7 separate regions of the Homo sapiens genome follow, and regions 1, 2, 3, 5, 6 and 7 are each linked to region 4. The links are contacts of gene promoters, found by promoter capture Hi-C in blood cells and fetal thymus (Javierre and others, 2016). All regions are on one chromosome and are shown on one strand. Each heading gives the region's core, a stretch centred on a gene start or on the middle of the fragment in contact. The rest is flanking DNA. Distances are from core to core; before and after follow the strand shown.

Region 1 (3,029 bases), core at 444-2,943, 680 kb before region 4:
TAGAGTACTATACTTTCTGAATAGAGCCCAGAGTTTTGCTCTTTGATAAGCTGTGTCAAGACAAGACCGTTTTTTATCTCCCCAGAATTCCCTTGGCTATTTTCAAGTCCCACAGACTGGTAGACTATGTGAATTAAAAAGAATTTTTGTCATCTAGAAAGCCAGCTGAGGGGAACTGATCAGCCCAGTAATGTTTTCAGTGCCTCCTCACAGATAGAACCCAACCTCTCTCGGTTAAAAGGCAGCTGGGCCTGTGTCCATTCAGGAGAGGATCCTAGTACTATACTTGTAACCTTTAGTCAAGTTAATGAAAAGCTTGGCATATGGGGGGATAATCTTTGGCGTATGTTTATAATATCCCCTGTATTTTAAAATTTTAAATAATTTTATTAAGATATATCTTGGAGTCCATCGTTTTCGGTCAGTTTTTCCGGTTACTACATGATCTTTCAAAATAGTTTCAAATCTCTTATTTCAGGAAAAATAATTTGTAAGTATAATTTAAGTATTATAATCCTTCCTTCCTTCCTTCCTTCTTTCCCTCCCTCCCTCCCTTCCCTCCCCTCCTTCCCTCCCTCCCTCCCTTTCCTTCCTTCCTTCCTTCCTTCCTTCCTTCCTTCCTTCCTTCCTTCCTTCTTCTATCTTTTTCTTTGCATTTTTAGCTACTGGAAGGGGCTGGGGCCCTGGTGATGCCCTGAGGCATCCTGTTCAATTGATCTTAATGAGCAGCTTCCCATTCTCTTCATCCATGGGTTTCTGATGGTATCCATTTTTTACATCCAATTTTTAATACTATTGATTTCCTTCATAAACTACCAAGGTAGCCTACATTTTTTTTAAAAAAAAAAAAGTAAAATAAAATGAAAATATCCATCACCCAAAAAAGTTTCCTTATGACCTTTTGTCACTCCTCCCTCTCATACCTCCCACTCTTCTCCCCAGACCTCACCCCCACAACCATATACAACTAGATAGAAGTCATTCGTCAGATATATATTTTGCAAGTATCTTCCAACAGCCTGAGGCTTGCCTTTTAATTTTCTTAACAGTATCTTTTGAAAAGAAAAAGTTTTTAATTTTAATCCAGTCTAGTTGATTGATGTTCTTTTCATTTATAGCTTATGCTTTTGTGTATCATATTTAAAAATCTTTGCCAAGCCCAAGGTCACTACATTTTTCATCCATGTTTTCTTCTAGAAGTATTATGATTCAGGCTCTTATATTAAAGTCTGTGATCCATGTCATTCATGAAGTTTTGTAAATGGTGAGGTAAGCGTTGAAGTTTTTTTTTTTTTTTTTTTTTTTTTTGCATATGGTTATCCAATTGCCCCAGCACCATTTGTTAAAAAGGCTATTCTTGCCGGGAGCGGTGACTCACACCTGTAATCCCAGCAATTTGGGAGGCCAAGGTGGGCAGGTCACCTGAGGTCAGGAGTTCGAAAACAGCCTGGCCAACATGGCAAAACCCCATCTCTACTAAAAATTAGCTGGGCATGGTAGCAGGCACCTGTAATCCCAGCTACTCAGGAGGCTGAGGCAGGAGAATCACTTGAACCCAGGAGGTAGAGGTTGCAGTGAGCTGAGATCATGCCACTGCACTCCAGCCTGGGCAACAGAGAGAGACTCTGTCTCAAAAAAAAAAAAAAAAAAAGCTATTTGTTCCTCATTGAATTGCCTTGGAACTTTTACCAAGTCAATGGGTCATATATGTGTGCATCAATTTTTGGACTCTTCTCTGTTTTACTGACCTATTTGTCTATCCTCAGGTAGATTAACTTTTTTCAATCATTTCAAATGTATTACAGCTGCTTTAAGGCCAATCTTACGGACTATCATGGTAAACATATGATGTGCACACCCATTGTTGGGTGTAGAGTTTTGAAAAGGTAAGTTGAATCAAGGTGGTCGATAGTGTGATTCAGGTCTTCTAGGTTCCTGTTAATGACTTGTCTTGTTGTTCTATCAATTTCTAAATAGAAAATGTAAAAATATTCAACTCTGAAACTGCTTCACTCTCCAATTTTGTCAATTTTTGCTTTGTATATGGTGAAGGTCTGTTATTAGCTGCATACAAATCTATTATTGTAATGTCTTACTGCTAAATTCACTCTTTTGACATTATGAAATTGAAATATACATTTTATCTCTGGGGATACTTTTTGTTTTGAAATCTATTTTAGTAGACATTAGTATAGTCAGTCCAAACTTCTAGTGCTACGGTTTGCATAGTGTATCTCTTTTCCCATTTATTTTGAGCTGTGTCTTTATATGAAAAGTAAGTCTCTCATAAACAGCATACAATTATGTATATGTGTGTTTATCCATCCTGACAATCTTAACCTTTCAGTTAAAGTGTTTAATCCCCTAACATTTAATATAATTACGGATATGGTTGTTTGAGCCCACCATTTTATTGTTTTCTATTTGTCTCCTCTGTTTTTTGTTTTTATTCCTCCTTTCCTGCCTCTTCTCAATTTTGTATTATGTGAGGCTGGGCACAGTGTAATTCCATCACTTTGGGAGGCCAAGGCAGGCAGATCACTCGAGGTCAGGAGTTCAAGACCAGCCTGGCCAACACGGCAAAACCTAGTCTCTACTAAAAATGCAAAAATTAGCTGGGTATGGCAGTGTGCACCTCTAATCCCAGTTACTCAGGAGGTTGAGGCATGAGAATCATCTGAACCCAGGAGACAAAGATTGCAGTGAGCCGAGATCATGCCAGTGTACTCCAGCCTAGATGACAGAGACTCTGTCTCAAATATATATATATATTTATATATAATAATAACATATATTATGTACTATAATACAACCTTGCAACTGTAGGCCCAAATCCCATTTCTAATCATTATGCTATCATGTTTATATGTATTACATCTATGTACATTATAAACCCAACAAGATACAGTTGTTATTCTTACTATAAAGTTGTATGTATTAAAAAGAAATCAGGAAAAAAATTAAAAAGCCTTTTGCATTGACCCATATATCTACCATTTCTGACACCCTCCATTGTTTTATAAGGATCT
Region 2 (3,265 bases), core at 589-3,088, 570 kb before region 4:
GCTATTCCTCCTGCCTCCCCCCACCCCACAACAGGCCCTGGTGTGTGATGTTCCCCTTCCTGTGTCCACAAAGCTTAATTTTTCTACCTCAGTGTGAGCATATGAAGGATAAAAGAACACTAAGGATGCTTGCTTTGAGGTTACTTAGGGTCAGTTAGATATTGTGCTTTTCTGTTTCTAAGTCTATATCCTCATCTATCCCAAAGTGATTGAGATTCATATAACAATTCTGTTGGTGTGGATTGGGATAATTCACTTCTACCTCATTGCTTCAATGTTGTGCCATTATGGGCTCCTGAGTGTACATGACTTTGTCAATGTCTGGATGAGTCTACTTGTTTTATACCTTTTATAGTGCCAGCTACACATTGGGGCATCCAGGAAGCAGTCAGTAAATTCTGAATGAGCAAATGATGAATGAATACTTTTAGAACAGTATTTCTTCAGTTTTTGAAACTTATGCTTTTTTTTTTTGTTTTGTTTTTTTTGAGAGAGAGTCTTGCTCTGAGGCCCAGGGTGGAATGCAGTGGCATGATCTTGGCTCACTGCAACCTCTGCTTCCCAGGTTCAAGCAATTCTCCTGCCTCAGCCTCCCCAGTAGCTGGGATTACAGGCATGCACCACCATGCCCACCTAACTTTTGTATTTTTAGTAGAAATGGGATTTCAGGCCGGGTGAGGTGGCTCACGCCTTTAATCCTAGCACTTTGGGAGGCCAAGGTGGGCAGATTGGCTGAGCTCAGGAGTTCAAGACCAGCCTGGACAACATGGGAAAACTTTGTCTCTACCAAAAATGCAAAAATTAGCCTATTGTGGTGGCACACACCTGTAATTCCAGCTACTGGGGAGGCTGAGGCAGGAGGATCGCTTGAACTCAGGAGGCAGAGGTCACGGTGAGCCGAGATCATGCCACTGCACTCCAGCCGGGGCAACAGAGCAAGACTCTGTCTCCAAAACAATAAATAAATAAAATAAAAGGAAAAAAGAAACAGGGTTTCACCATGTTGGCCAGGCTGGTCTCAAACTCCTGACCTCAAGTGATCCACCTGCCTCAGCCTCCCAAAATGCTGGGATTCCAGGCATGAGCCAACACGCCTGGCTGAAAATTATGCTATCTTTTGATCAACAGCTCCCACACCCCAAATGTGATACTCTTCTACAGGGTCGCCTTCCAGTGATGATGAATTGTATTCTCCACCAGTTAAAACTTTCTAGTCTCTCCCACCCTAATTACACACTAAAAAAATACTACTGGACATGCTCTCTCCCACCCAAGGTTCTGCTATTTACCCCATTTCCAAGAGTATCTGCACCATTTTAGATCAGAGGCCCCAGAAAGGCAGGGACATTCCTATTTAAACATCTGCCATGCATAGACATATTAGGTACCAAATAAGTGCTTTTGATAATGACACAAATTGACAGCTTTGGGAAAGCTGTAGTGCCCTACCATCACCGATTACATTCAGTCATTCAAAACTGGATTTAAATCCAGACCTCCCACGTAGAGTCCCCATAGCCTAGTCTGAGATGGAATGCATGGCATTCTTCAACCTCTCTTCCTTAAATATCTGTCCAGATTATGCCCTTTCATGTGTTTTTGAAGTAAAAAAGAAAATCGTATCCTCTCCTAAAACTTTTCCTGACTCAGGCATTTAATATTATTCATGAAGACTAATGGCTGCAGTTTAATTATTTTAATGTTTCCAGCTCAAACTATAGAAGTCTAGGAACCAAATGTTTGGCCCATCGTAGCTAAAAGCCTGCCTATACTTTTCATGTGCACGACTGTAAAATGAAAAACAAGGAAAGTGGCTTGTAATTGTATAGCAACCAAACACATGGTTTTTCCCTTTCCTTTGGGATGAAAATGCCTTCCTGTAGAAACTAAGGTTATGCCCCTACTTCTGAAGCCCAAGGAGGGACACTTTGATGTGAAAGAGGATCCTGGCCAAGTAACGGATGCAGAAGCCAGTGTGGGAATAGGAGGAGCCTCCAGAAACAGGAAAAGGCATTGTCCCAGGGAGGGGTTATTTCATCCCACTCTGTCGTCATTCGGGCTGTCTGGTTTATTTCCTCCCCCAGATTGGTGTGAGTTGGAAGGACAGTCCTTTGTTAATGAGGTCAAGAACAAGACTGACCATTTTGTGAGGTGGTTAGGGCTGAACTTTCAGATTTCAGATTTTATAAGAAGTGACCGAGAAAAAAATTAATCTGGGCTTCATCTAAGCAACACCAAGGCAACTGGTTAGGAAGTGAGAAGTCCAGTCAATTGGTGTGGCTAAGCAACATCAAACACCTTGGTTTTTCTAAGGAAATATTTCAACATGCCAACAATTTAGGCTTTATGCAGATATAAGACTGAAATCCTGCCTGCAGCCAGGTTCCCTCAATAAAACTTGCTAAAATAAAAAAGATTTTATTTTAAGAGTTTCATATCACAAATGAATAGCTGCTGGTCAAAGCACTGATAAACACAAAGCAATGTATAGAGCTGGGAAAATCCCTGGGCTTGTTTTCTGGGACAGCATTAGCAATGCCCCCACGTGGGTTCCATCTTTCTTGGGGGCTTTCTCAGCACACACTTGTGTGTGCCCTGCAGCTCCTTGTGGGAATACTGATGCACGGGTCCTTGCAGAATCTTCAGCCAAACCTCTGTCAGCTGGGAGCAGCAGTATGGGAAAGAGTGGCCAAAGCTGGTTCCATCTGGCACAGGCCCGAGGCCTCTGGCCACATTATTTTCATTGTACTTAGCACTGAATGCTTCATAGTGCTTGAGAAGGCTTTGTCTTTATTAGTTTTCACAACAGTCCATGTTGTAGGATATCATTAATATTAGATTTCCCATTTTAGAGTTCAAGAAGCTGCTGATCAGAAGGCTTAAGGGACTTGTCCATCATCACCTGGAAAATGAGTATTTGACCCAGGATTAGATTGCATAAATACGGGTCTCCAATGGCTCTAATACTGCAGAGTCCACATAGAGTCTCTAATGGCTCTAACGGCTGCATAGTCCACATAGAGCATTGGGTCTCTAATGGGTGCATAGTCCACATAGAGCATTGCCATTTTCTCTGAGAACCTAAGGGAATACTTTTCTCATCTCGTAGGAACCCCTCTCTTCCCAGGGCCCAGGGAAGCCCCTCCCAGTCTTATCTCAGGACATGAACTGGGTCTGAACTGCTGGAGGCACTCTCTTAACCGAGGTTGGGCTCAGCTCAGCTCTCATTCTATGTCACACAAAAAGACCCACGAGGGTTTGAGAT
Region 3 (3,279 bases), core at 220-2,719, 520 kb before region 4:
ACTTCTCCTTTGTCTGTTATTAAAAGGAGTGAAGCCCAGTAGCCTAAGATACAAGCTGGTGAGTTTCCAGTTATCCTTTCAGTAACAAGGCACCTTTTGAAAAACATGGATTATCTGTTTGAGGTGGAAGAGAGTAAAGGGGGAGGCACAGGATAGAAGAACATTTAAAAAGTGTGTGTGAGTGGGGGTGGAGGGGAGAAATATGAATTATCCTTTGACAACACGATTCAAGACTCAGACACAAGCCCCCTGGAGTCAGATGTTCTTGTGTTTGAACCTGCATATTTATAGAGTCAAAAAGAAAGGAGACGTTATTTATGCAAAGCTGAAATATCATACACTTAAATGGATAGCTCCTTGTGACAATAAGTGACTCATATGTCAAGACAAGTAATCAATTTTTCATTCTGATTAAGACCTTTCAACTTAACGCAGGGAGAATGCTCCTGGCTGCCTTAAATACATCCTGTTAAAACAGAAGTCTGCACTTAATCGCTCCTTTTTAGAACATGAGTCTGATTTCAGGCCAGGCAAAAACATGGGGGAAAACACTTTAGGAATAAAGTAAGCTTTGTTTCCCCTTTTGCACTGGAAAAAAAACCATAAAGCATTTGAGTAATGTTAATACTTAGGTGTTCATTTTAGAGAAACTTGGGGGATCTAGTGAGCTGAAACTAACTCTTTACCTTATAAATCTTAAAGAACTTTAAGTTGAAGGAATTTAACTTAAAATAATGCTATCAAAAAAGGAAGTTAAGCATTATTACTTTTCTGTTAGTATTATTGCCAAACCAACTAGAGCAGAATTTCTTGACCAAGACTATGAATCTACAATAGTTCTTTCTGTAATCGACCAAGACTGGCATAACGCTTCCTTCATTGCTTCCTCCAGGGAGAAAAACCTGTGTAGAAGTGTGCATTGTACTAGTTCCTCCAGAGGACTGCCAACGTGCCAGGAAACGTAGGGGATGTGGACAGTGGGACTATGTTTGGGGAGGCAAAGTGGAAATTGGGATGTATATAATATCAGAAGTAGGGATAAAATTGCAATCATAGGCAGTTGCAGCTATGGGTCTACAGACATATGCAGGAAGTGAGAAACGGCTGAGGAAGAGGGAATTTGCAGCCAGGAACAATAGAAATGGGCATGGATGTGCTTGTGTGTTTCTCAGCAGCCCTGTTTTGAAGGGGAGCTTTGTTTCAGGATGGAGGCTGAGAAGAGTGAAAACAGACTGGGGAGGAGGGTAGAGACATGCCAAAATTCACGCCCCTAGCAAAGTTCAAAGGACCCAGAAAGTTATTCTAGTGCCTTTTCACCAAGTGCCATGCTGTGTTGCCACCAGCAAGGCATCAAAGCTGCAGCCAGTGTGCAGATCCCAGGCGGCTGGGCTATGTGATTGCTGACTGCCAGCACTGAGGCACCTCTCTGGGTGCCCACCTAGTGGGAAGATCCTCACAACCACATGGTTGTCTGTGGCCACTGGGCTGTCACCTGGAAAAGGAAAACCATGCAGCACCCTCATAAATGGCTCTGAGCTGCTGGGGCAGTTCACCATCGGCAGATGACCTTGGTGAGGAAATGATGAGGAGTGGCGAGACCCAGTGTCACAGCATGTTAGGTATTTATCGCTGCATAAAAATTACCTAAAACTTAGCAACCTAAAACAATAAACCTGTATTATCTCATCAGTCTCTGTAGGTAAAAAATCTGAGATTGACTTAGTCGGGTGGTTTTGGCTCAGGATTTCTCATGAAGTTGCAGATATTGGTCAGGGCTGCAGGCATGTGAAGGTCTGACTGAGGTTGGATGATCCTTTTCCAAGGTGTTTCACTTACATGCCCACCTGATTCCTTCTGGCTGTTGGCAGGAGGCTTCAATTCCTTACCCAGTGGGCCTTTCCACTGGGCTGCTTGAGTGCCTTCACGACATGGCAGATGGCTTCTCCCAGGACAAGTAATTAAAGAGAGAGTGCAAGAAGGAAGCCACATGCTTTTTATAACTTAGTCTTGGAAGTCATATACCATCACTTCTGCCACATTCTGTTAGTTAGAAGCCAGTCATTAAGCCCTTTCCACACAGAAGAGGAGGGGAATTAAATTCCACTTTTCGAAGGAAGAATTATCAAACAATCTTTGAATGCATTTAAATATCACTACAAACAGAGAGGATGGCCATTAGAGGATGGCCAAATGGATATATTCCAGATGGCTAGGGCAGATATGTGTCTTCCACAGACCCTGGAACAGTTGTATATTGTCTCAGTTGGGAGATTAAAAAAGAAATGTCAGCACAAGAGTCTCAGTCCAGACTAATATGATAAGAATCTTTCTGAGGATGGAGCCTGGGAATCTGTATCTTTAAAGCTTCCTGTACAATTTTGCATACAGGGAAGTTTGAGAGCCCCTGATCTAGAACAGCGCTGTCCAGTGGAAATAGAGTATAAGCTGAATATGTGATTTAAAATTTTCTACTAGACACATTAAAAGAGTAAAGAGAAACAGGTGAAGCTAATTGTAACAATATACTTCCGTTAATACTGCCAAAATAGTATCATTTTGACAGGTAATCAATGTAAAAATGATTAGTGAGATATTTACCTTATTTTTTGACACTAAGTGTTGGAAATCCAGTGTGTATTTTACACTTACAGTACATTTTGACTTGGTCTAGCCACACGGATCTAGTAGCTATTGGATTTATTGATTACTGCTGGTCTAGAATAGAGGGCCATAATCATGGGAAGTTTGACTATTTTATTCACTGCTTTGTGTAGATCCTGGGACATGGTATGTGTTCAAGAAGTATTTGTTGAATAGATTAATAATGTGCTGATATGAACTTAAAGGTCAGTTATAAAGTATATATCCTTTCATATAGAGTAGATTTTCTCAGATTCCCATAATTTTCTGGACTTTTCCAAAAAAGATTGAGCTATGATACACAATGCTAAAACTCTTCATAAGAAAACTTTCTGGTGCTGAAGTGGATTTATGGGAGACATTAGAAATATTCAGAAGAAACAGTAAAATGTGATCAATTTGGAAGAGAAACATAACCAAGTATACCTGGCATCTCTGGAAGATAATTTCAATAAATTGAAACATAGATATTAAAAAAAAAGAAAGAAAACTTTCTGGTGCTTTGTTATATCTTGATCTGCATTCAATCCGAAAAAAAATCTAAATAATTTTATCCTCTGTGTGCTTGATCTGACTACTACAAGCCTACATACATTTTATTTATTTATTTATTTAATTTCAATCGATTTTTAGAAGACA
Region 4 (3,210 bases), core at 562-3,061:
CTTGAGTATAACCTGTGGAACTTTTAGGTTAAAGGGAGTTACTCCTCCCAGTCCACATACAACATAGATTATGGGGATACTATAACCTAGCAGCCAGGGGATCCACACAATAAAAAGGGCAATGTATGTCCAAAATTATGGTCTCAGAGGAAATGGGAGACTGTAAGAAGTCATATAAATAAAACATTACAGGGATATAGCTTTTAGAAGAAAATGCAATCAAATAAAAACGTTGTAAAAAACTTGCCAAGGAGAAGAAAATTGAGATATATAATACCTAATAGTAAAAGGTTTTTTTGTTTTTGTTTTTAAAAAGCAAGCATGAAAGCGTGGACTTGGTTGGAAACAAGACATTGAAAAAGTAAACTCTCTCATGACTGTAGCCACAGTAGTACTGTCCCCAAGAAAAATTAGATGACTATAACCGCCTTCCCCAACAAACCAAGTTGCAAAGGACTGAAATGCTAAGAATATAATCAGCTAGGATACGAAAACCATGGTTCTCCAATGTGAGCTGAAATGGAATAATTTTTAAAAAAAAAAAGTACAAGCATTACAGTAGCCAGGTAATCAATCACTCGCACAACTGAGCCTGAACCACAGCTCAGCAGAACAATGGAAAAGCCCTGAAGATGTACAATGGATAAAAGACTTGTTCCGGCTGGGTGCAGTGGCTAACGCCTGTAATCCCAGCACTTCGGGAGGCCAGGCGGGCGGATCACCTTTGGTCAGGAGTTCGAGATCAGCCTGACCCACAAGGTGAAACCCTGTCTCTACTAAAAATATAAAATTAGCCGGGCGGGGCGCCTGTAATCCCAGCTACTCGGGAGGCTGAGGCAGGAGAATCGCTTGAACCCGGGAGGCGGAGGTTGCAGTGAACCGAGATCGCGCCATTGCACTCCACTCCAGCCTGGGTCAAAGAGACTCCGACTCAAAAAAAAAAAAAAAAAAAAAAAGAGAGAGACTTATTCCGCTGCAGCGCCAAAATCGCAAGCTCAGAACTCTGCACAGACGGCACTATTTCAAAGGTCAAAACCAGGACCTCAGCAATCTTCCATTAGGTGACTTTACAAAGTGCTACAAAAGTCATGACTACTACTATTCTTTACAACCTAGCAAGCGAAGGAAAGACCGGGGAGAGCCGGGAGGCCGTTTAGGAGAGAAAACTACTTTGACAAAGACTGCACAATTACAGAATAAAAATCAAAAATAACTGATAGAATTAAAACTGATCGCAGTTCATGTCTTTGGCAGCAAACTCCCGTTTGAGCCGAGCAGGAACAAACGCGTTATGCCTGAACCTTGTGCACATACAATTCTTTCTTCTCTTGCACGGCCCGCTTCCAAAATGCATTCACCGCCACTCTCCATGGAACCTTCAGCGGGCCCTGGGGGCAGCCAGAATTTTCCAAACGAGGAAGCTGAGGATCGGCCCAGAACCCTGAATTTTGAGGGGAGTGAGACTTGGGCCCTCACAGGCCCAGACGCGAGATATTTCAACTACACCCGGGAGGCGCGGGGTGAAAACTCCCTGGTGTCGGGCGGGTGCAGGCCCCTCGCGGCCGGTCGCGCCAGAGCTTCCACCTCAGGGTGGGCGGCCAAGCGCGTGGGCACGCTGCAGGGAGGGCCGCTCACCTGGGCAATGCCGGCGCCCATCAGCCCGCCGCCGATGACCGTCACGTGCTTGACGATTATCTTCTTGGCCGAGGCCGAGGCGGTGGACGAGGAGGACACGGAACGCATGAACTGCCTGGTGACGAAGGCCATGGTGTGGCAGCGGCGGCGACAGCGAGGAGACCCGGGCAGGGAAGACGCGCGAGGCGGGCAGCCGCGGAAAGCCAGACTCTGGGGGCGGGGACCTACGCGGCCCTGCAGCCCGCGCGCCCCCGGCGTCCCCGTGACGCCACAAGGCGGGGGCGGGGCCTCGAGTCCCGCTCTGCCCATTGGCCCTGGCTGTAACGTCCCAGCGTTGAGCGGGTATACACGCGCGGGCTCGCAGCTGTCAGCAGCCGGAGCCCGAGTGAGCGCGGGCTTGAGACCTGCTGAGCAGCGGGACCTGGCGGCTGGCGTTCTGGTGTGGGGCCGAGAACAGACCCTTCTTCTGAAAAGCCACTGGCCCCTTGTTCTATGAAGTGAGTGGTGTTGACTCTGTAAAATGCTATCCTTTGATGACATGTGCATATCTAGGCTCTGAAGAAATATGTGCTGCTTGGCTGTGTTGGTAATGGACCCAAAATGTGCACCGTTGGTTGATGTCACCAAATAATCAACTCGGGATTATTTTAATCCCGTGGACAGTGATTGTTTCCCCTAAAAGGGAAATAAATGTAGACTGCGAACACCCAAAACAAATGTCTAGTGACCATGAGTTACAATGCAAAAATCAGGCTCAGGGAAGGTAAAGAGAGAGTTGACCTTTAGTTACCCATCTTGACGTTGGACGTCTATCAGTGCAGTGAACATGTGGACGGTTTAAGGTCATAGAGCAACCTTTCTGGAATAACGAATACTATTAGAAAGCATAGGAAAGAAATGTCTTGTCAAATAATGGAAGACTGGATAGCAGCTTGGCCAATCTTCTCACTCAGGTGAATACTTTCTAATTACTGTAACTTAGTGATATAGGATTCTTATTAATTTATTTGCTTTATGTTTAAATATTGTTAACAAAAAAACTTCAAACAAGTTTAGCAGAGTTTATCTGAGCAAAGAAAGCATGAATCATGTAGTATCCTGAGCCAGTAAAGGTTCAGAGAGCTCCAGCCCCTAACAGTGGGCAAGCCGCGTTTATAGACAATATTTTTTGCAGCCTGTAATGGGCTAAAAGCTCCGCTGCGGTGATTGGCCAAGACTTGGCCACTTGTTAGAAGAACGTACTCTCAAATTACATTGCAGTTTATTTACATATTAGGTTTGATTATGCTTTGCTAGGTAGGGAGGCAACTTTAGGCCAGATTTAATTTAATAACAGTTTCCTCCTTTGGGTCAGCCTCTCAGTTTTACGAGATTGACCAGAACCTTGTTTTGTCTCAGTATGGAAGTCACAATGTCAAATTAGTTGAGTGATTATACTTTCTTCATGTTGTTATTCTAACTGTAATAACACCATTTGGTGTACAAAGGATGGCTGCATAGAGACATTGAAGACTCTCGAGGGGACAACAACACATCAGGGAGACTATTATGGCCACGAGAAGGAGTATAGCAATA
Region 5 (3,439 bases), core at 223-2,722, 540 kb before region 4:
CCTTTTCTCTAGAACTATACACCATTGCTAGAGTTTCTGAATGTAAATTTAGAAAATGACCATTTTTCTTTTTTTCTGCCCAAACTGGACTCGAATTCCTGAACCCAAGCAATCATCCCACCCCAGCCTCCTGACAGCTGGGATTACAGGAGACTGCCACTGCACCTGGCTGGCAATTGTTTTTTCATCTCTCACGAGTGAGAAAACATAGCCAAAACACATAGTAGTGATGAAGTCCTATAGCCTTGAATAGAGGCAATAAAAATAAGGCCAGTTATGGTTTCTGAGCTGAGCTGGAGTCTCTCAAAGCTGAGCAGTGTGTGCTGGGCAGGGCGGAGGAAGAGCGGGGCGGTAGCTGTACCTGTGATGGAAAGGCTCCACAGTGGTGTTTGACAGTTCACGTCATTGATGAATAGTTCTCAGGTGCATAAGCCTAGAGCTATAACAAAAAGGACCTTAGATTTCATATAATCCAATTCCTTCATTGTGCAGAATGACTTGCAAGGGTTAGTGGCAGAGTCAAGCCTAGATTCTGGGGTTCTTGTCTTCCAGGTTGGTATTTTCCATTGCTTTGAGTTGGGCATTTTACCAGACAGGTTAAAATACACAGTCTCTGTCTTCTAGTAGCTTACAATTTAAAATGTCTGTTTCCCAGAAGAAAAAGGAGTAGTTTAGGGAATGAATGAACACTATGAGGACCAAAAAAGATACTTGGTTCCAAGCTCGCGTCGCTGGGTGACCATAACAAAACCACTGATCTTGTCTGTGCTTGCGAAGGAAGCTGAGGGAAAGCGGGGACTGGGGAGCAGCTTCATTCACCTTTTTAACAGTTAGTGGTTCTGCACTAAACCAGAGAAGGCTCTTTACTGTGCCATGAGGGATGTAAGAGTGGACAAATGTGAGGTTAAATTTCTCATTTGAAAGTGTGATAATGGAATAATAATATTAACTGTTTCTCTAACAAAGGTCAATGTACATTCTCACAGTGACACAAAATACCCTGGCTCTGTACTTCTTCCTTTACAAACAGGCCCATGTCAGCTTCCTGGCTGACTTCTGGTAAATCATCCTAAAACGATTCCTGGCATTCACCTCATAGAGGGTTAAAACTTCCTCTGCACAAACCAAGGGCTACACACAGAGAAGAGAGGCTACAAAGGAGGATATTGTTGCTTATTTTATACCAACTGCGAGAAGAGAATGCTGAAAGGAGAAAATGCTGTGGTATAATTTTGAAAATCCAGATTCATAAGAAAAATTTTATGGAGGTTATTTTATTTTATTTTTTAACTCAATTTTTTTCTCTCTGTGTTCCACCCAGACTAAACCAACCTTAAAAATGTCCTTATTTGGGTGAGAAAGACTCTTAATGCTATAGAATTCTGTGTGGAAACCCAGAAACAGAAGGTTGACCGAGGCAGCACAGATAGGGGTTAGTGATACTGATCCCTTGTCTTCTCACCCTTGACCCTAGAAGGGCTTAGTGGCAAAAGGAGAATTTCCTGCAGGGCTGCGTTCAACCTTCCTGTTAGCAGAACTGGAGGAAGAATACAATGTACTAAAAAGCAGCCCCTCCCTCATTCCTCTGCCTCATCTACTTCTTTGAGATAAATGAAAGAAGGAAAATAGCCATATCCACCAACAACCCTGAGGATCCCTGACAAATGGCCCTAAGGTATATCACACCACATCCTTGGAAACCAGGAAGAAACCAGGGAACAGGATTGGGTTTAGCTCGTATAATTGAGTTTAGCTTGTATAATTGAGTTTAGCTGTAATTACTGTGTGGAAAACTGCAGTATTTTCCCTACCATAGATTGGATCTTCACCCCTCATGAATACTGTGCTGGTCAGTACTACATCTTGCAATCTTTTGCTGGTGTAATTTTCAAAGGTGGAATATATGCAATGAGGAATTAATGTCTGTTGAAAATACATGAGCTGCTGGAAACTTGTTCGCGGTTACATTAGAATATGCAGACAAGCTGATATAGTGCATGTTGGAACAGTCCAGAATGAGACAATATTAAAAATATTTATTTTGGGACCCGAGGTAGGTGTTGAAATGGATATGAAGGGCATGTAGCCTCACCCAACTGTCTTTTTATGCATTGCCGTGCCATTTAAAGGGCCAAGCACCTTTTGAGAATTGATGCACTTTATTTACTAAAAGTAAAAATATCTTTGGTCTCACTTTTCTTTTCTTTTGGGGGTAAAAACTAATTTGTTAGTTGTCAAGATAGCCAGGCTGAAGAAAAAATGGCTTTTCCCCTCGTTTTTAACCTGCTTTGATGACACAGTAACCAAATAACCAAGTGGTTCATATACACTCAAAATATTGAATCACAGTCTCTAGGGGCAGGGCTGGATCATCAGAACTTTTCTAAAGTTCCCCACATCACTCTATTGTGCCATCAGGATTGAGAAACCACTTGTCTGAAGTCTCACCAGTTTGAACTGACATTAGTAAGGAGAAAACTTAGTCCAAAAGAGAAGGCTAGCAAAAGGAAACATGTAAATCGGCTACGAAATGTGAATGTGTTGCTTCAGGAATTGCTTCATTGAATTAAGGGCATGAAAAGAACTTTGAGAGTTCAATTATTTCATTCATGTGCATCCAAATAGAAACATACTCCGGAATTGATGTTCTGTTTTTAACAGCTTTCAGTGCTACTTATCCAAGCATCTTTTGTAATCCATTCCCAAATATTGCAATGCATGGAAAAGCAAGCAAGCAAGTAGGCCAATAGTACAAAACATTATAGAAAGAACTTATTTTTACACATAATAAAAATGGAAGTAAAATTAGTTATTTTAGGATTAGTTAAATTAGGACAAGTTAAATTAGGATTGAGACTATGCATCATGGGTAAATTTTCATATATGCTTATTACAATAACACTGATTTTGCAAGACCAATTTATGACTAATCTTAGAGTTTCCTACCAGAATATTTCTTCTTAATTCCAGAGAGGATGTTTTTAGCTATTTCTCTGATCTCTTATAAAGGTACTGGCCTGGCTAGATTTATAAGTAATTTTCAGGTCATAATAGCAATAACCTATAACTTACTGATATTTGAAAGCTGTAATTATTGGAGGAGAAAATTACAGGTGAATCTTTCATCTTCATTGAGATACAAGGGGATAGGAAAGCTTTATAAAAGAAAAGGCCAAAAAAAAAGTCATATAAATGTTAAGGTTGAAAATATAAGATCTGTTTTCTTAATTAAAGGAATTTGGCCACATATAATAGTAAGAAGGTTTTTTGTTGTTATTTTGATTTTCAGAGCTAAATAGGCAACCAGCTGGGCTCAGCTCCATGTCTGATGGTCTCACCTCTTTGTTTCCTTTAGGGTAATTTCCTTTTGCCTTGTCTCACTGTACCCAGGAGGTCAGTGGAGATCCTTAAGGAAGGTGTGATGGGCCGTGGGGAGAGA
Region 6 (3,121 bases), core at 131-2,630, 600 kb before region 4:
CAGGCTAGTCTCGAACTCTTCACCTCAGGTGATCCACCCACCTCGACTTCCCCAAATGTTGGGATTACAGGCATGAGCCACCACACCCGGCTGGAAGGGCTTAGTTTTAGGGAGGGACTATTATCATCCTTGTTTTAAAGTTAAAATACAAACTAAATTTCTCCCAAAGTTAGCTTGGACTACACCCGGGAATGACCAAGGACAGTTTGAAGGTTAGAAGCAAAATGGAGTCAACTGAGGTGGATTTCTATTACTGTTATAATTTAGCAAAGACATTTTCAGGGTCTTGCTCTATTGCCCAGGCTGAAATACAATGGCATGATGATAGCTCACTGCACCCTTAAACTCTTGGGCTCAAGTGATCTTCCCATATTTGTGTTTCAAAGTGCTGGGATTACAGGTGTGAGCCACTGTGCCTGGACTCTGAAAAATTTTGAAGGTCGGCTGGGCATGGTGGCTGACACCTGTAATCCCAGCATTTTGGGAGGCCAAGGCTGGTGGATCACGAGGTCAGGAGATCAAGACCATCCTGGCCAACATGGTGAAACCCTGTCTCTACTAAAAATACAAAAATTAGCTGGGCGTGGAGATGGGCATCTGTAATCCCAGCTACTCGAGAGGCTGAGGCAGGAGAAACGCTTGAACCTGGGAGGTGGAGATTGCATTGAGCCAAGATCACGCCATTGCACTCCAGCCTGGGCAACAGAGTGAGACTCCATCTCAAAAAAAAAAATTTTTTTTGAAGGTCTTTCTCTTGTCTTATTGTAGCTGAGAAGTGTGAAGGCATTCTGATTCCTAGTCCTTTCTAAGTAGTCTATTTTTCTCTCTGCAAGTTTATAGGATCTCTGTCCCCAGTGTTCTGAAACTTCACAGTGATGTTGCTCAATGTAGCTCTACTAGAATCTATTTTGCAGGAGCACTTGGTGGGCCCTTTTCATCTAGCAATTCATGTCTTCAGTTGTGAAAAATTTTTGTTAAATTATTTTACTAATGATTTTTCTGCTTCATTTTCTCCTTGCTCTCTTCCTGGAACCCTTATTACTCATATGTGAGACCTTCAGGTGTGCTCCCTTTATTTTTCTTATATCTTCTCTTCTATTTTCCGTCTGTCTTTTTGCTGTTTTCTTAACACTTTCTTGAACTTTATCTTCAACTCTTCTGTTGAATTTTTCATTTCAGCTATTAGCTGCTCTTTTAATTCTCTGAATTTTCTTTTGACATAGCATCATTTTCTATTTTCACAAAGGAAATATTTTCTCTCAGAATTTTTTTTTTTTTTTTTAGACAGAGTCTCGCTCCATCACCCAGGCTGGAGTGCAGTGTCAAGATCTCGGCTCACTGCAACCTCTGCCACCTGGATTCAAGCGATTCTCCTGCCTCAGCCTCCCGAGTAGCTGGGACTACAGGCATATGCCACCACGACCCGGTAATTTTTTCTATTTTTAGTAGAGATGGGGTTTCACTATGTTGGCCAGGCTGATCTTGAGCTCCGGACCTCAGGTGATCTGTGATTGGACTCCAGTGAAGACTCCAAGATGGCGATCGCCACCTCGGATACCCTGATTCAGCATTTCCGGGTTCACCTTTCCTGTTCCCGCCACCCTGACTAACGCGCATGCCCACTAGGGCGTGTCACACTCAGAAGCGCGAAACTCAACCGACCCCGCCCCTACCCCGCCCACTCTTCACCCAGCATCCATAAAAGCGCGCTGCACCTTTGGCACAGTGCGACTTCCCTGGCCCTCCCCCTGCGGACCAGTGAACCTCGCCTGAGAGCTCAAGAAAGAAGATTTTTGCCCTCTTAGTCTCGCCTCTCCGCCTTATTGTTCCACGGTGCCCTTCCATTGCCTTTCAATCTGCCCACCTTGGCCTCCCAAAGCGCTAGAATTACAGGCGGGAGCCACTGCACCCAGTCTCTCTGAGGTTATTAAGAATAGCTTTGTTTGGGCTGGGTGCAGTGGCTCACACCTGTAATCCCAGCACTTTGGGAGGCTGAGGCAGGTGGATCACCTGAAGTCAGGAGTTCAAGATCAGCCTGGCCAACATGGTGAAACCCTGTCTCTACCAAAAATACAAAATTAGCTGGGTATGGTGGCGCATGCCTGTAATCCCAGCTACTTGGGAGGTTAAGGCAGGAAAATTGCTTGAACCCGGGAGGCGGAAGTTGTGGTGAGCCGAGATTGTGCCATTGCACTCCAGCCTGGGCAACAAGAGTGAAACTCCGTCTCGAAAAAAAAAAAGAATAGCTTTGTTTGGCCAGGCACGGTGGCCCACTTTGGGAGCCGAGGTGCGTGGATTGCTTGAGCTCAGGAGTTCGACAGCAGCCTCGGCAACATGATGAGACCCTGTCTCCTCTAAAAATACAAAAGTTGGAGGTCGGGGGAAAGGGGACAGAGAGCATTAAGACAAATACCTAATGCATGCAGGGCTTAAAACCTAGATTACAGGTTGATAGGTGCAGGAAACCACCATGGCACATGTATACCTATGTAACAAGCCTGCACATTCAGCACATGTATCCCAGAACTTAAAGTAAAATTAAAAAAAAAAAAAAATACAAAAATTAGCTGGTGGCCGGGCACAGTGGCTCACGCCTGTAATCCCAGCACTTTGGGAGGCCGAGGTGGGCAGATCACTTGACGTCAGGAGTTCAAGACCAACTTGGCCAACATGGTGAAACCCCGTCTCTACTAAAAAAATATAAAAATTAGCTGGATGTGGTTGCATGCGCCTGTAATCCCACTTACTTGAGAGGGTGAGGCAGGAGAATTGCTTGAGCCTGGGAGGCGGAGGTTGCAGTGAGCTGCGGTCACGCCACTACACTCCAGCCTGGGCGGCAGAGCTAGACTCTACCTCAAATAAATAAATATATAAATTAATTAAATTAAATAAAAAAAAATTAGCTGGTCATATTGGTGCATGCCTGTGGTCCTGGCTAATCAGGAGGATTAGTTGGGAGAATTGCTTGAGCCCAGGAGATCGAAGCTACAGTGAGCCAAGATAGAGCCACTAAACTCCAGCCTGGGCAACAGAATGAGACCCTGTCTCAAAAAAAAAAAAAAAAAAAAAAAGAATAGCTTTGTTGGAGTTTCCCCCCGCCCCACCCCCCACCGTATAGTCT
Region 7 (3,173 bases), core at 376-2,875, 700 kb before region 4:
CACACATCTAGATGTGTGTATATATATATTTTATATACACATATATATGTGTATATATTTTATATATATACACATATATATGTGTGTGTGTATATACATACATATATACATATATACACACACATATGTGTATATGTATATATATACATATGTATATACACACACACACACACATATATATATATATATATATAATCTTGAATGTAATCTCCAAGAGTTTAAGAACCTATGGTTGCTCACTGTTATATTGCCAGGGCCTGCAAGTATACTTGACAATTAGCAGCATCCTTTAAATGTTTGTTGAATAAATAAATTTAACCCACCAATGACCTATGATCCAGGTATTATGATTACCCCTTATTTCAGGAAAGGAAATTTAGCACTGACTAGTCAAGCAAATAGCCCAATTCACATAGCAAATAGGTGATGGAGGGCAAATTAAAACCCAGATTGACCCTGGAATCCCCATGCTTCACCGTTGTCCTCCATGGCCTCTTGGCATATGGGACTGCCCAGGTGCACTGAGAAGAAAGCTTTTCTTTCACTCTGCTTATTCGAATCAGAAGCAGACCTAGTTCAAAAAAACAGAAACAATTGTTATTTTATGAACTAATGCTATTTATGATCACCAGCAGCACAATTTTTACCCGCCCCCCCGACTACAAAAGGAAGCAGCATGGCAATCACTATATCCAAAAACATACCTGGTAAGGGGCCATTGTCAGTTCCAGAGAACCAAACCACCTGGAACCTCAGCAAAAGTGATGAAATACCAGCATCTCAGAAAGTTAAAGTGGATGATCCTTCACAGGGGTTGCCCAATGGTGCTGTAATCTGAACTATTGCACAAATAAAGGCCTTTTGACAGCTGGTTTGTGTTTTTCCAAAAGATGAACCATCAGTTCTTCACAAACAATAAAGAACATGTCCCACATTGATGTGTCCTGAGAGAGGAGTGTCAGGGTCACTTCATTTACAGCCTGTTGAAACTGTCACATCAAGATTGTCACAGAGGAAAAATTTTCAGCTATGTCTAAGGCAACAAAAAACCTTCAAAAACAGAAGTGGCTGGCTAAAGTTGGGTAGTAATACTTTTTTCTCACAAGTAAACATGTCAAGAGAAGAATAATAATGTAATTTAAATGGGATCAGAATTATAGTATTTGAGCTAGACTTAAATGACTTCCCTTTCATATCAATTTATCAAACGTGACTGGTATTTATGGAATACTGTAATTTTGGCCTAATAGCTATATTCTAAGAAATATAATTATTCAAAAATATATATTTCTTTACAGATAAATACATATCTTATCATCTGGGATTTACTTCAAATCAACCTGGGTTGGGAGCGGAGGAATGAGGGTATACATTGATTAAACAAGACTGGCCATACGTTGATAACAGGAGAAGTTAGGCAATGGGTAAGGAGAGGTTTATTAGTACTATTAACTTTGCTTTTACTTATGTTTAAAATGTCCACAATAAAAGTAAAAAGATAAGCAAATAATACAAACAACCTTTAAACAAGACTTACTTAACCCCTACAATGTGCACACTCTGCTCTGTACAATGGGTTGTGCAAAACCAGGTTCTGTCCTCAAGGAGCTTAACAGCCTCATAAAGGAAAGACAGCAAGCACGAACTCACTCAACAAACTGAAATCCAAAGTAAGTGTCAGTACCGAGAGAGAGAGAGAGAGAGAGAGAGAGAGAGAGAGAGAGAGAGAGAGAGAATGCAAGGGGCTCAAGTTCCAGTTGCCCGGTTAGGCTGTGCTAATTGAAACAGCTCTTTCATTAAGAGCTGCAATGCTATTCCTACCTAACTTGCAGTGGCCATGATACTAGTCATATAGAATAAACATCTGACATCTTGCATGTTGTGGGATATGGAGGAAAAGTAGAGAAATTAATTTTCTTCTTGACCAGGATATAGCTACACTCAAGTATAATATTTTAAATAAGATACAAATACTTGGCTAGGAAAAAAGCTGGGGGTTGTAATGACGGACATAGTAAGTGTTGTAGGGATAGTCTCAGATAGAGATTTTATAAGAATTACATAAACTACCTGAGACTAAAAAAGAGTTTAAAATGTTGGGACAAAGTTCGGTTATTTGCAGAAACTCAACAACTTTTATAAGGCTTCAAACAGATGTACTGTGATGCTTCATAACTATATATTACTGACTGTTACTAAAGGCTAATGCCATTACCTGGATTTTTAAAACAGTTTGCATGGCAATGAATATAGCAAGAAAATAAAAAATAAACATATAGGTAGGTACAGCCATTTGATATAAATCTGAACTCATTTCAGTAAATGAAATGGCAAAAGACATGGCACTATCTAAGAAGCTGAACTAATTCATTTCACATATCAAAAAATAATACTAAACGATAAAGTATATAATGAAACTGTGTGCACAATGTCAGTAAAGTAATACATAGCATTAAAAGTGATCCACTTAATTATGCCAACCTTGAAATGCTTTACCAACTAAGTATACGTTGAGAAAGGCAATCCACCATGGGCCCTGAGCATCCTCACAACTTCTTGCTGGGTATGTAAAGCATGCAAGGCCGTGACTGATCTTTACCCAGACCATTGCTCAGGATCATGCTTGCAGCAAGCAACCTTGAGGAATAAGATAATGTCTCCCTCCAGACAGACAGCAGGTTTGCTTACTATAAAAGCAGCATATTCCCTAAGCTTAGTGCTCCCTGGCTGCCACACGAACCAGCTATGTGTAAACATCAACATAGGCCTTTCTGCATTGCCCCTGTGGGACTTGAAGTGTGTTGGAAAACCAAAGCCAACATAAAACTCATTTTACTTGCTCCATTGTGAGTAATAAAGTCCTTTCTCTCTGATCCAGAAGTCTCATGTCTTCTGCCAGTATCCATGAAATAGTAATAGGCTAGCTTACTAGCTTGCAAACGGAATAAAATTCCAGATCCTGACACTGCATTAGCTTTGGAAAAACATAACCAGATTATAAAATACACCAAAGCACGAACTGTAACACAAGTCAGCAGCTCTAGCAATTTACTAAATGTTCATTGGCTCAAGTGGCATAGATGGCAGACAAATTAGTTGAGAATTTATTTTACTTGTAACATCTCACATGATCTAAACATTTTAGATGAAGAAGTCGTTTCCTAACAAGGTGT

Evidence for each region. The method cuts DNA at HindIII sites, captures the fragments that hold promoters and counts their contacts. A CHiCAGO score of 5 or more calls a contact.
Region 1: a contact is called between a fragment that was not itself captured here and the fragment with the promoter of HADH in region 4, in 2 of 17 cell types (naive CD8 T cells and activated CD4 T cells). The highest score is 7.3, in naive CD8 T cells.
Region 2: a fragment that was not itself captured here is called in contact with the fragment with the promoter of HADH in region 4 in 9 of 17 cell types (non-activated CD4 T cells, total CD8 T cells, activated CD4 T cells and 6 more); the score reaches 9.8 in non-activated CD4 T cells.
Region 3: a contact is called between a fragment that was not itself captured here and the fragment with the promoter of HADH in region 4, in 5 of 17 cell types (non-activated CD4 T cells, activated CD4 T cells, naive CD8 T cells and 2 more). The highest score is 13.4, in non-activated CD4 T cells.
Region 5: a contact is called between a fragment that was not itself captured here and the fragment with the promoter of HADH in region 4, in 10 of 17 cell types (non-activated CD4 T cells, naive CD8 T cells, activated CD4 T cells and 7 more). The highest score is 17.0, in non-activated CD4 T cells.
Region 6: a contact is called between a fragment that was not itself captured here and the fragment with the promoter of HADH in region 4, in 13 of 17 cell types (non-activated CD4 T cells, naive CD8 T cells, total CD4 T cells and 10 more). The highest score is 21.3, in non-activated CD4 T cells.
Region 7: a contact is called between a fragment that was not itself captured here and the fragment with the promoter of HADH in region 4, in 1 of 17 cell types (naive CD8 T cells). The highest score is 5.6, in naive CD8 T cells.

The regions. Positions count from the first base shown.
Region 1 is chr4:108,672,237-108,675,265 of GRCh38, reverse strand. No RefSeq gene overlaps it. Among named protein-coding and RNA genes, the nearest start is that of OSTC, 23 kb to the right of the region's middle. The HindIII fragment of the contact is 2,752 bases long and covers 318-3,029 here.
Region 2 is chr4:108,559,530-108,562,794 of GRCh38, reverse strand. All of the region lies in intron 1 of RPL34-DT (RPL34 divergent transcript), which reads left to right. LOC101929621 (a long non-coding RNA gene) reads right to left here. Exons shown (of 2, transcript NR_134679.1): 2 at 2,403-2,902. Among named protein-coding and RNA genes, the nearest start is that of RPL34-DT, 59 kb to the left of the region's middle. The HindIII fragment of the contact is 3,526 bases long and covers 76-3,265 here.
Region 3 is chr4:108,509,872-108,513,150 of GRCh38, reverse strand. No RefSeq gene overlaps it. Among named protein-coding and RNA genes, the nearest start is that of RPL34-DT, 110 kb to the left of the region's middle. The HindIII fragment of the contact is 1,795 bases long and covers 572-2,366 here.
Region 4 is chr4:107,988,490-107,991,699 of GRCh38, reverse strand. HADH (hydroxyacyl-CoA dehydrogenase) reads right to left here and starts at 1,811. Exons shown (of 8, transcript NM_005327.7): 1 at 1,636-1,811. The coding sequence starts at 1,767. RefSeq lists a silencer at 1,815-2,044. The HindIII fragment of the contact is 11,946 bases long and covers 1-3,210 here.
Region 5 is chr4:108,529,282-108,532,720 of GRCh38, reverse strand. No RefSeq gene overlaps it. Among named protein-coding and RNA genes, the nearest start is that of RPL34-DT, 89 kb to the left of the region's middle. The HindIII fragment of the contact is 3,371 bases long and covers 1-3,157 here.
Region 6 is chr4:108,592,975-108,596,095 of GRCh38, reverse strand. All of the region lies in intron 1 of RPL34-DT (RPL34 divergent transcript), which reads left to right. Among named protein-coding and RNA genes, the nearest start is that of RPL34-DT, 26 kb to the left of the region's middle. The HindIII fragment of the contact is 7,816 bases long and covers 1-3,121 here.
Region 7 is chr4:108,688,617-108,691,789 of GRCh38, reverse strand. No RefSeq gene overlaps it. Among named protein-coding and RNA genes, the nearest start is that of OSTC, 40 kb to the right of the region's middle. The HindIII fragment of the contact is 2,179 bases long and covers 536-2,714 here.